Regions from separate parts of the Homo sapiens genome. Here region 2 is linked to region 1. The links are contacts of gene promoters, found by promoter capture Hi-C in human tissues and cell types (Jung and others, 2019). All regions are on one chromosome and are shown on one strand. The core of a region is centred on a gene start or on the middle of the fragment in contact, and the rest is flanking DNA. Distances in the headings are between cores, read along the strand shown. Region 1 holds the start of DNAJC12 (DnaJ heat shock protein family (Hsp40) member C12). Region 2 overlaps HERC4 (HECT and RLD domain containing E3 ubiquitin protein ligase 4).

Region 1 (6,702 bases), core at 2,217-4,716:
GAGGCTGAAGCAGGAGAATCACTTGAACCCAGGAGGCTGCAGTGAGCTGAGATCCTGCCACTGCACTCCAGCCTGGGCAACACAGTGAGACTTCATCTCAAAGAAACAAAAATTTAAAAAAAAAATCCAATATAGGGAGAAAGGCTAACTGTCTTGGAATCAATCTTTGTTAAATTGTTTTGAAATGGGGAATATATTGTTTTCTATATAACATGGAAATCCTCCCATAATTTATATATGTCATTATGTAAACTAGAAAATTAGTCTCATTGCTTGTTTTCATGGTTGTATTTTCAATTTCTGAAAGATAATTTTAAAAACTCTCTGAGAAGGAAAAGCTTCAGGATTACTGCTCTAGAACCATTAGAAAATACATAATTTTACTTTAATCAATTTCTAGCACAAACTTTAAATTGTAAGAACTATATACCAAAGCAAAAGTATTATGTGGGTGTCTCAATTCAATTGTGATAAGTAAAATTAGAATATCAAATTGTTTTGAAATTATAACAGCTAAAATGCTTTCGGGCATGATGAGTTCTGGTTAATTTTAGAGCATCAAATGAAGGAATACCTGAAGTAAAGGCAATCTATCCAATACAAATCAAGTAAAGGAAATGTCATATTAGTCAAAAATGTCATAAAAATATTTTTGAAATGAGAAGCATACCTATAAAAAGAAGAGAAAAGCCAGGTGCGGTGGCTCACGTCTGTAATCCCAGTATTTTAGGAGGCCGAGGTAGGCAGATCACGAGGTCAAGAGATGAAGACCATCCTGGCCAACACGGTGAAACCCCGTCTCTACTAAAAATACAAAAATTAGCTAGGCATGGTGGCATGTGCCTGTAGTCCCAGCTACTCAGGAAGCTGAGGAAGGAGAATCACTTGAACCTGGGAGGCGGAGGTTGCAGTGACCTGAGATTGCACCACTGCACTCCAGCCCGGCAACAGAGTGAGACTCCATCTCAAAAAAACAAAAAAAAGAGAGAAAAAATGACACACACACACACACACACACACACACACATATATATAAAGAAGTGACAATATTATGACAAACATTTCATTAAAAATAAATAATTGTTATCTAGATATGATATGCCATTGACAGACCAGTAAAATACATCCAGTAAAAGGAATGTTGAGACAAGGAAGTATGACTCCACCTGGTAACCATATTTTGAATATTACACATTAACAACGAGATTATTTTCTGTAAGGCTGTCCAAAATGAATCCTCCTTCTATGTAGATTGAAAAGACAACAGCATAACTTCAAAAGACTGACTATGCAGCCATAAAAAAGAATGAGTTCATGTCCTTTGCAGGGACATGGATGAAGCTGGAAACCATCATTCTCAGCAAACTAACACAGGAACAGAAAACCAAACACCACATGTTCTCACTCATAAGTGGGAGATGAACAATGAGAGCACATGGACACAGGCAGGGGAACATCACACACCGGGGCCTGTCGGGGGGTGGGGGAGAAGGGGAGGGACAGCATTAGGACAAATACCTAATGTATGCGGGGCTTAAAACCTAGATGATGGGTTGATAGGTGCAGCAAACCACCCTGGCACATGTGTATCTATGTAACAAACCTGCACATTCTGCACAGGGATCCCAGAACTTAAAGTAAAATTGAAAAAAAAAAAAAAGGACTGACTAAATAGGTCACAAGATTATGGAGATATAATGACCCTTACTGTATAAGCTAGCATGTATTTTTTTAAATCCAAATTGTCAGCCTTATCAAGTTAAATTATATTCCTTTGATTTTAAATTATTCCTTCAAAAATTGTTTGATAATAGTATAATTTCAACTGTGAATAACACATGGTAAAAATGGTAATAAGCTTTCTCAATTGCTATAAGCAAATCACCACCAACATAAACAAGAATAACACATTCTTGAGAAGAAATATGCAACTAAAAGACCATTATAAGCTATTCTGGGGGCGGGGCAGTTTTTTTAATTTCAACGTGTCTAAGATAACTTCCTCAGCATGGCAAAAATAGAGATTTTAATCCTTTGTGTCCAGTAATGCATTCTATTCTTAAAACAAAACTAAGCACATTTTATTAATGAACTACTGCCTTTATGAAACAACAATAAATATAAAAACATTTTGCTTTACAATGTTAATTTTACTACTTAGATTTTAATAAAAATAAATAAAATAAAATACATTAATTATAAAACATAAATATATCCTAATAACATGATTTAATAATATATAATTTAATAATGAATATATTTTATATTAATCTCAACATTATTTGAAATATTGAAAAATTGGAAATAAAATATTTAACAATAAGAGAATAATTCAACTGTGGTAACACAGCAAAATAAAATATTTTGCAACCACTAAAAAGTGTACAAGGAAAGTTTAATAGCATGGAAAATTCCTTGTTATAATACGAATGGGTAAAAAGCAGGAATCAACAAGTACATATAATATCCTCCCAAACAGGTCTTTAAAGAATATACATAGAAAGAATAGTGGAGATTAATATGCCAAAATATTAATACTGTTATCCTTGGGAGAGAGAATTATAAATGATTTTTCCATAATTTAAAAAACCTCTACAACCTTTATAATTGTTTATTGAGAACTTTAAAAATTTTGTTTTCTTACAGATCCAGTGAACAGCTACAGAGTTTTCACATGTTTTGTTTCAGAAGCCACCCTTTCAAGAAGTAATTTCTGTCACACAATTTGAAATATTAACATAAAGGGATGCTTCTTTGTTTCTATTTTGACTGCTCACATAGGAGTACACATTTTAATAAAATATATTAAAATCCCTAATTTTATAAGAAATTTCATTTCACCTCAATTATGAGTCACCATAATAAAGGTATAGCTTATATATACTGTGAAACACTGCCATCAGAAATTACAATAAAATTTCAAATATTTATTTTTAATATACTATATTGTGAAACAGCATATGGCCATGTGCCAGAATACACATATTTAATCAGAAGCTTCCGTAAAATTCCCATAGGACACTATTCAAGTAAAATCCCAACATACATTTAAATTCTTAACTTTCTCTGAGCCAAAAGTGCTTTAAAACAACACAAGGTTAGGTTTGTAGGCAATGTGACTAAAAATTCAAAGTTAAAACCTTAAATAAAAACTTGAAATACTATTGTGAAAAAGAATACTGTTGTGATAAAAATATTATCCACTGTCTTACCGAAGATAGTTCATCACATCCCAGTAATGTGTAGTAATCTTCAGTATCTTCTGACCTGTAATTCAGTATTGCATCCATTTAGATGACTTAATCAGTCCTTCTTCCCTCGGAAACAAGAGGCACAGTGAGCTTCGAATTAACAGGAAGAAACTCTTTAAATCTGAATTAGAGCAGCATGTTCCACATAGCAAAAACTAGCTTTAAGACTGGCCACAGTCAATACACCAGATGTCATCCTAGACCTTTGTAAACTCTGCCTCTCATTGGCTGTTTACAGAGAAGAAAAGAACAGTCCACGTGTCTATTATTGCAGTGCTGCCTGGGATCTGTAGTTTGAGTTTATATAAGAGATGCATGTGAACCATTTGTCTTATGAGTTAATAAAGACTGTCTATTTTCAGAAACTTGCCACATTAGCCACTTCTCCATCTCCTATATATTTTTGTCTCTATCCTTTAAAAAAAAAAAAGAAAAAAAATGTGAAGCAATGTGGTAAAATCTTAGGATGTGTTAATAAGGATAATGGGAGCTTTTCTTAGTGTTTAAAATACTTAATTTTATTTTTTATTTGTTTATTTTCAGACAAGGTCTCACTCTGTTGCCCAGGCTGGAGTGCAGTGGTGCAGTCTCAGCTCACTGCAACCTCTGTCTCCCCAGCTCAAGCGATCCTCCCACCTCAGCCTCCCTAGTAGCTGGGACCACAGGCACATAGCACCATGTCCAGCTAATTTTTGGTTTTTGTTTTGTTATGTTTTAAGAGGAGGGGGTTTTGCCATGTTGCCCAGCCTGGTCTCGAACTCGTGAGCTCAAAGCGATCTGCCTGCTTCGGCCTCCCAACGTGCTGGGATTACAGGCATGATCCACAGCGCCCAGCCAATAACACAGTCTTGATTTTTATGGAGCTTACGCTCTGATGGAGGAAGACAGCTGAAAAACATGCAAAAAAAAAAAAAAAAAAAAAAAACACGATCATTTAAAATAGTGATTTGTAAGCCAGGCATGGTGGCCCACACCTGTAGTCCAGCTACTTGGGAGGCTGAGGCAGAAGAATCACTTGGACCCAGGAGGCAGAGGCTGTAGTGAGCCGAGATGGTGCCACTGCACTCCAGACTGCGCTACAGAGCAAGACTCCATCTCAAAAAATAAAAAAATAAAATAGTGATTTGTGCTTTAGAGAAAATAAAATAGGACAATGAGAAGAACTGTATGATAACTCGGGTCAGATGGCTGTGCTATTTCTCCTGGGTTGGTTCTCCAGACTCAGGAGTGTCTCTAGTCTGAGGTAGGTCCAGGCAATTTATGTTTCAGTTCATTTTGGCCCTAAGAAACACAGTTCAGGTCTGGGATTTAGAGAACAAGGTGAGTGGTCAGGGACACAACACTTTGACTGCCTTAACACTTTTTTTGTTTCATTTTTCAGAGAGACAGGGTCTCGCCATATTGCCCAGATTGGTCTTAAACCCCTGGACTCAAGTGATCCTCCCACTTTGGCCTCCCAAAGTGCTGCGATTACAGATGTGAGCCAACATGCCTGGCCCTTAACACTTTAAATTCCCCCACCTGAGGGGAAAAAATAGTTTTTCTTTTAGCCCACCTATATACATCTTTTTAAAGGTTTATTTCTGAAGAGAAGCAAGAAAAAGCACTGAAACACCATTTTTTACTAATCCTTCATTGTACATGCTGTCTTGCTAAAAGTTCTATATAGAATTTTAAGGCCAGGCACGGTGGCTCATGCCATAATCCCAGCACTGGGAGACCGAGGCGGGCGGATCACGAGGTCGGGGGTTCGAGACCAGCCTGACCAATGTGATGAAATCCTGTCTCTACTAAAAATACAAAAATTAGCCAAGCATGGTGGCACGCACCTGTAGTCCCAGCTACTCAGGATGCTGAGGCAGGAGAATTGCTTGAATCTGGGAGGCGGAGGTTGCAGCGAGCCGAGATCGTGCCACTGGACTCCAGCCTGGGTGACAGAGCCAGGGTCCATCTCAAAAAAAAAAAAAAAAATTAGATCACAATATCTTGATCTAAATCACTGATAAATGGCCTTTTAATGATGTGAAGTTGCCATGGTGGAAAGCAGTATGGTGGTTCCTCAAAAAATTAAACATAGAACTACCATGTGACCCCACAATTCCACTTCTGGGTAAATACACAAAAGAATTGAAAGCAGGAACTTGAAAAGATATTTATATACTCATGTTCATCAAGGCATTAGTCATAATAGCCAAAAAGTGGAGGCAATGCAAGTGTCCATCAACGGATGACTAAACAAATGGAATGTTAGGGCTGGGCATGGTGGCTCACACCTGTAATCCCAGAACTTTGGGAGGCCGAGGCAGGCAGATCACTTGAGGCCAGGAGTTCGAAACCAGCCTGGCCAACATGGCAAAACTTCATCTCTACTGAAAATACAAAAAAGTTAGCTGGGTGTGGTGGCACATGCCTGTAATTTCAGCTACTTGGGAGGCTGAGGCACGAGAATTGCTTGAACCCAGGAGGTGGAGGCTGCAATGAGCTGAGATCACACCACTGCACTCCAGCCTGGGTGACAGAGCACGACCTTGTCTAACACAAACAAACAAAAAAGTGTGGTATTGGCCAGTTGCAGTGGCTTATGCCTGTAATCCCAGCACTTTGAGAGACCAAGGCAGGAGGATTGTTTGAGCCCAGGAGTTCAAAACCAGCCTGCGCAACATAGTGAGACTCTGTCCTTATTTTTATATTAATAATATAATTTTTTTTTTGAGACAGAGTTTCACTCTTGTTGCCCAGGCTGGAGTGCAATGGTGTGATCTTGGCTCACCGCAACCTCCACCTGGGTTCAAGTGATTCTCCTGCCTCAGCCTCCTGAGTAGCTGGGATTACAGGCATGTGCCACCATGCCCGACTAATTTTGAATTTTTAGTAGAGATGGGGTTTCTCCATGTTGGTCAGGCTGGTTTCAAATTCCAGACTTCAGGTGATCCACCCGCCGTGGCCTCCCAAAGTGCTGGGATTAGAGGGGTGAGCCACTGTACCCGGCTTAAAAGTTTTTAAAGTGTGTGGTATCTTCCCCCTGGCTCTCTTACTCCTGTTCTCACCATGTAACATGTCTACTCCCACTTCACCTTCTGCCATAAGTAAAAGCTCCCTGAAGCCTACCCAGAAGCTGAACGGATGCTGGCTCCATGCTTCCACATTCTGCAGAACTGTGAGCCAATTAAACGTCTTTTCAGTATAAATTACCAAGTCTTAGGTATTCCTTCATAGCAATGCAAGAATGGCCTGACACAAAAAATTGGTACCAAAGAGTGGGGCCTTGCTATAAAGATACCTGACAAAGTGGGAGCAGCTTTGAAACTGGGTAATGGGCAGAGGCTGGAAGACTTTGGAGGGCTCACAAGAAGACAGGAAGATGAGGGAAAGTTTGGAACTCCTGCAAGACTGGTTAAATGGTTGTGACCAAAATGCTGACGGTGATATGGACAGTGAAGTCCAGGCTAAT
Region 2 (6,702 bases), core at 2,042-4,541, 130 kb after region 1:
CAAAAAGACCCTTGGCTGATTTTAACCTATTATCCTTTCCCTGTAATAAACCCTAATCATCAGTGTAACAATTTTCAGTGAGTTCTGGGAGGCCTCGTAGCAAATTATCAAACCTAAGGGTAGTTTGGGGGACCCTCCCCAAACTCACAATTGGTATCAGAAGTGAGGGCAGTCTTGTGTAAACTGTTCTCTTTAACTTTGTAGTTGACTGAGTTCCCACGTGTCACCAGCGATATTATTGGAGGATTTAAGATATTAGCAAAGACTTTGGGTTCTCTCACTATATTAAGTAAAGCCAAAGCAGTGTAAGCATAAGCAAAACATCACTCTATGCAAACCCTATTCAGAGGAAGAATATTATTGACAAGAATTTCTTTAAAAAAATTCACAGTACCAAGTTATTACCACATAAATGCTCCAACTGGCAGTGTAAACAAGATGAAAGTCTTTAGAGACTGTTCTGCAAAAAAACCTTTCAGATTACACTCTGTTTAGCTAGAAGGCAATATAAAAGGAACATCTGAAATCCTTTTATAGTATACCTTGTGGGACTTTTTTTGAAAAAAGAACTTTATTATTTTAAAGCAGCTTTAGATTCACAGCAAAATTGAAAGTAAGGTGCAGAGACTTCCAATATACCCTTATCCTCACATATGCACAGCCTTCATATCACCAATATTCCTCTTGTAGGACATTTAAAAAGTGTTATTACTACTAAGAAAGTTTAAATAAGCAAAAAAAAAAAAGCCTATAAAAATTTATCTATGGCCTGCTTGATAACTATACTATATACCAAGGGAGTTTATAGTATGGGAGATCGATTTTCTCCTTAGCTAAACAATGAAATATTAGTATGTATGCATTATCTTTTTTACTACTACATGTAAGTAGATATAGATGTTATACATATCATTATACACTGGGGAAGTCAGTAAGATAATGTTAGAATTTATAGTGCGACTAACCCATACTAAGCAGAATATAATTTGGTTACACTAAAAATTGGGACAGAAAGATGTGAACTGGCAAGAATATGAAAAATAATAGGACGTGAAAAACTTCAGAAAAAGAGAGATGATTAGACATTAGGTATAATCATTTTTCTAAGAGAGAGAGGCACCAAAGGGAAAACCAGATAAAGATAATTAACTAAAAGTATCAGAAAGGGAAGAAAAAATAGCAAAGAGTTTGGTAGTAACCAATAAGGTATTTTTACAAACAATTTAAAAGCAAAGTTAAAGGAGGATAAGGAAACTGAGAATAGTACCTAGAAAATGCTCTTAGAAAATGTTTCATTATAGTGCACATAGAGAAAGGCAGCAAGAGAACAGAGTTATTAGACACGTCAGAATAAAAGCTACTGCCAAATTTGTAGCCTGTGTCAAGGTAGCCAGCAACAATAATCACCATTTTATAAAGACTTAACTGTGTGCCAGAAATTACTCTAAGTCCTTCACAGGGATCATATAAATTAATCTTCTCAAAACTTTTTAAGGTAGGTACTAATATCCTAATTTACAGAAAACAAAATGAAATCTCAGAGAAATTAAGTAATTTTCCCAAGGACAGAACTGAATATATGCTGAGGTGGGATTTGAATCCAGGCACTCTCATAAAAGTTACTCTGCTTTCTCATCATACATATTTATGTTGTGAGTTAGAATTCTTCATCATTACAACATTCTCCATAATAAATTAACTTAATTTGCCAATTTGTAATGTTATTTACTATTTATTTATTTTTTGAGATGGAGTCTCACTCTGTTGCCCAGGCTGGAGTGCAGTGGCGTGATCTCAACTCATTGCAACCTCCACCTCCCGGGTTCAAGCCATTCTCCTGCCTCAGCCTCCTAAGTAGCTGGGATTACAGGTGCCCGCCACGATGCTTGGCTAATTTTTGTATTTTTAGTAGAGACGGGGTTTCGCCATATTGGCCAGACTGGTCTAGAACTTCTGACCTCAGGTGATCTGCCCACCTCGGCCTCCCAAAGTGCTGGGACGTGAGCCTCCGCACCTGGACTGTAATGTTATTTATAATTATAAATTTGCTGTGGTCTTAGAGTTCTTTTAAGAGCTAAACACCAAGAGTTTAGAACTAGTTTAATGTGTGTATATATTTATATAATATGTAAGTGAACACTGGGCTTCTTAAGAAATTGTTCTTCTTTAAAAGGGTCCACATATCCCTCCAAATGTTCTGAATCCTTTCAAAAACACTGCTAAAAGACCTAGGGTACCCTGGTTGGTGTGTGAGGGTTTATATGCAAAGTCTTGGTATGAACAAGGTTCATTTCCTGAAGAATCAATTTTCCTCAATGACAAATAAATTAAATCTCTTTTATACTGCAATATCTATTATGCCCATAATGCAAAATTTGCATTTAAAGATAGAAAATTAGCCTCAGTTCAAGTCTTGCTGAGGGAAGGTTAAATCCTTAAGAAATATGTTATTTCTCCTGCCATCACAGGTTCTCTAAAGGAAGAGTTTGAGAAGCTTTACCTAGGTCAGAGATGAAGAAAAAAGGAAATATTTATTCAAAACTGCTGAGGTCAATTATTTTCTTTCTTAAAAAATTATCCCTTGATTCCAGCTACCACTCCATTTTTTTTTTTTTTTTTTGCTCCTCTTCAATGCAGAACTTCGTCAAAGTATTGCCAATGGTTGTTACTGCTTCCTTACCTCTAAATTTCTCTTTACAACATCCCAACCCAAGAATGGTATTATCAAGGTTACCAATTACCTTCATGTAACCAAATTCACTGTCAATTCTAAGGTTTCATCCTCCTCCTCTGCAGCATTCAACAGTCTCTCTTTCACTTTTAAATTTTGGTTTCCAAGACTCTCCTAGTTTTCCCTCTACCACACCTGCTTTTTAATCTTTGTGGATTTCTCTCCTTTCCTCACTTCATATCCAATCCATCAGTGATTTTTATTTTCCTTTTGTCTCCAAGATTCCCTTTTATCTCCAAGACATATTCCATTTCCTTCTTCCATCTAAATAACCATCATCCTAGTCAAACCCATCATTTCCTCTCCCCTAATCTACTAAAATATAGCTTTCTCATGGATTTCCGTCTTTCATTTCTGTCCCGTTCCCTACACAGCCAACAAAGTGATCATTCAAAAAGATCAGATTAAGTTTCCCCTGTTTATCATTAACACTTTAGATAAAATCCAAATTCCTAATCCTAGTTTACTAAACTCTCTATGATCTGGCCCCTGCCCATTTCTCTGTTCCCTCCTCACTCCCATAAGCCATGCTGGCTGTTTTCCTTTCTTTCTTTCTTTCTTTTTTTTTTTTGAAAGGAGTCTCACACTGTCGCCCATGCTGGAGTGCAATGGTGCAATCTAAGCTCACTGCAACCTCCACCTCCTGGGTTCAAGCAATTCTCCTGCCTCAGCCTTCCAAGTAGCTGGGATTACAGGCGCCCACCACCATGCCTGGCTAAGTTTTTGTATTTTTAGTAGAGACGGGGTTTCACTATGTTGGTCAGGCTGGTCTTGAACTCCTGACCTCGTGATCTGCCCACCTCGGCCTCCCAAAATGCAGGGATTCCAGGCGTGAGCCACCACACCTGGCCTAATGCTGGCTTTTTTCTGTCCTTCAATCATGTCAAGCTTGTTTTCACCTCAGGTATTTTACCAAATGTTCGTTGTTCTTGAAATTCTCTCTGCCCTGATCTTAAAGGGCTGCTCCTTGTCATTCAGATTAGTACTCATACTTCATTAGATAAGTCTTTTCTGAAACCTATCTTTACTAAGTCCCCTCATTTTAATAATACATATTATTAGCTGGTATTTTTTGCTTTGTTTGACTATTGCCAATCTTGCCCAGTAGATTACGAATTCCATGAGAAACAAGGCTCTGTCTGGTTCACCACTGTATTTCCAATACCTAAATCAGTGCCTGTTATATAACAGATTCTCATTGTTTGTTGAATAAGCAAATGAATAGACCTAAATCTATAGAATGGCTATAAACCTGACCCAGCCTCAAAGTGACTCAGGAGAAAAGTCAATGAGTCTCTCCCAGTCCAGACCCAAGTACACTAGGGAAGGAAAAGATGTCTAGAAGCAACCTGATTCCGGAAGGTGGGAGTATCCTAAAAACAGCGTGCACTAACCAGATTGCCATTCAAAAACTACTGTACTTTTTTAGTGCTTACTAGACATATTCTAGACACTGTCAGAGGTGCTGGTTGACTGACAAGAGCACCCATCCACAAGGAGCTTACAGCTGGTGCCTAGCAAGCAATGAAAAGTTACTCACCCTTCTATTATATAACTGCTGCACACATATTAAATTACCTGGGTACAGAAAAGTGGGCCTCAAGTATACACAAATGGCTAGCAAATAAGAGTAGTAAACCTAAATATTTTGTATCTAACTGCTTACCCATTTCTGCATTAAAATTTTATGTGCCTAATTCAAGTTTTATAAGACCATGGTACTATTTTAATGGGATAGTGTCTAGTTATTAAAGACTTAGCTGCATAAAAAGATGTACGCACCCACATTTATATTAAAAATCTGAAATAAAAGTAAACACATAATCGGCTCACTGCAACCTCCATCTCCCAGGTTCAAGTGATTCTCATGCCTCAGCCTTCTGAGTAGCTGGGATTACAGGCATGTGCCACCACACTTGGCTAATTTTTTGTATTTTTAGTAGAGATGGGATTTCGTCATGTTGCCGAGGCTGGTCTTGAAATCCCGAGCTCAGGGAATCCACCTGCCTCAGGCTCCAAAGTGCTAAGATTACAGGCATGAGCCACCACACCCAGTCCTCTTTTGGTAGTCTTGAAGCACCAATTTCACAACAATAATGCATTCTTAGGAGTTCCAGTATGAAGAATGCCAGTATTTTCAACACTGGAGAAATAAGAGGCAACCTCATGGAAAATAAAAGAGTTAAAAATCCATTTCACACTTGTAGGTTTTTTTTGTCTTGTTTTGTTTTGTTTTACAGTGTAATCCATTTCTTTGGTTTGGCTTTGGTAAAAGAGTAGAATGTTTGCATATAAATATTGTAAAATATATAGCACTCCTTTGCAATGTGTTATTATTTAAAAAGTAAGTTCTGGATAAAAGTTCTGAAAAAACTTTCTCATTTCAAAACCAAGCAATTGTTTCTTTTTTTATTAGATACATATACATAAAAATGAAATCACAAATTGCACAGAAAACCTACCATTCCATAGGCCTGCTGTTGGACCCAGTTGATATAATCATTTCTTATGTCTATCAATTCTTGTACTTCATGTATATAAAATTTATCATACTGTATAATCTGTCCCATTTTCTCATTTACCTACAAAAGAAAATGTAATTGACATTAAATTTAACCAGTACTCAAGACAGACAAATTTTTTTTATTTTTTGAGACGGAGTCTCACTCTGTCAACCAGGCTGGAGTGCAGTGGCACAATCTCAGCTCACTGCAAGCTCTGCCTCCCGGGTTCACGCCATTCTCCTGCCTCAGCCTCCTGAGTAGCTGGGACTACAAGCACCCGCCATCATGACCGGCTAATTTTTTGTATTTTTAGTAGAGACGGAGTTTCATCGTGTTAGCCAGGATGGTCTCGATCTCCTGACCTTGTGATCTGTCCACCTTGGCCTCCCAAAGTGTTGGGATTACAGGCGTGAGCCACCACGCCTGGCCAAGACAGAGAAATTTAAAATATCTAAAGAAAAAAATGCTTTGGGGATTTTCTTAGCTATTTTTTTCTTCCTACAAAAAATAATTACTGAGTGCCTACTATATGCAAAATGCTAGTTAAGTGCTATGGGAGACACAAAGATTTGTAAGATGTGATATCTGCATTCAGTACCCCAAAATCTAGAAAAGACATGTCTTTATAACTACAACACAGTATGAGATATGTAATGATTAAACTGTATACGGTATATATAAACTAGATACTATAAAGACTTATGGTTGGGAAATGGGACCTTAATAATAATAGCAGCTAATGCTTGTTAAGTGTTGCTCTGTGCTGGCATCTGATTAGAATAAACTTTAGAAGGTGATATCTGGACACGATGTGAAAAATGAAGAGGATGCAAATTACCACCCTAGAGATTACCTATTAATTACAAAGATAAAAACAAATCTTTACAGTGGAGAGCACCATCTTCATCAAGTGATCTAACTAATCATCACCAATACTGGAACAATGAAATATTATGTTCTTGGTGATATAGCTCAACAAGAAGCATACAAATGATCTATGAAGTAAAAATAGTTTAACCCAAATCCAATCAAGTCTCCTAATCTAAATTTTAGTTTATAGGAAATACAAGGGATAGAGGAACAAGTTAAATAAACATCACAATGAGGAAACAATCAGACAAATCCTGATTATGAAACTTTTATAAGAAAACTGGCCAAGAATCTTCAAAAAGTCAAGGTAGCAGGGATTGAAAAAAAAAGGAGCTATTCTAAATTAAAAGAGACTAGAGGAATTCTGGTACTAAATATGGCAGAATACTTTGTATCAGACTACTCTTCCTGGCACTAACAATTATAAACTCTAGACAATACATTAAAGAACAACTACTGTACTTAAAAACACTGGAGATCCACCAAAAGTAGGCAGAAACAGGAATGGACACAAGTAGAGGATAGAGCTCAAGCAGAAAGCAGCAGTCTTAATAGACAGACTGAAGCTGCCAGCACAGCCAGACAGTGAGGAATAAA

Evidence for each region. The method cuts DNA at HindIII sites, captures the fragments that hold promoters and counts their contacts. A contact is called where the count stands out against the background at its distance.
Region 2: a contact is called between a fragment that was not itself captured here and the fragment with the promoter of DNAJC12 in region 1, in 2 of the 25 tissues and cell types used here (mesendoderm cells and thymus).

The regions. Positions count from the first base shown.
Region 1 is chr10:67,834,722-67,841,423 of GRCh38, forward strand. It overlaps DNAJC12 (DnaJ heat shock protein family (Hsp40) member C12), which reads right to left and starts at 3,467. Exons shown (of 5, transcript NM_021800.3): 1 at 3,213-3,467. The coding sequence starts at 3,290. The HindIII fragment of the contact is 7,681 bases long and covers 2,428-6,702 here.
Region 2 is chr10:67,961,490-67,968,191 of GRCh38, forward strand. It overlaps HERC4 (HECT and RLD domain containing E3 ubiquitin protein ligase 4), which reads right to left. Exons shown (of 25, transcript NM_015601.4): 16 at 5,194-5,313. It also overlaps the pseudogene RPS3AP38. Among named protein-coding and RNA genes, the nearest start is that of SIRT1, 80 kb to the left of the region's middle. The HindIII fragment of the contact is 5,776 bases long and covers 404-6,179 here.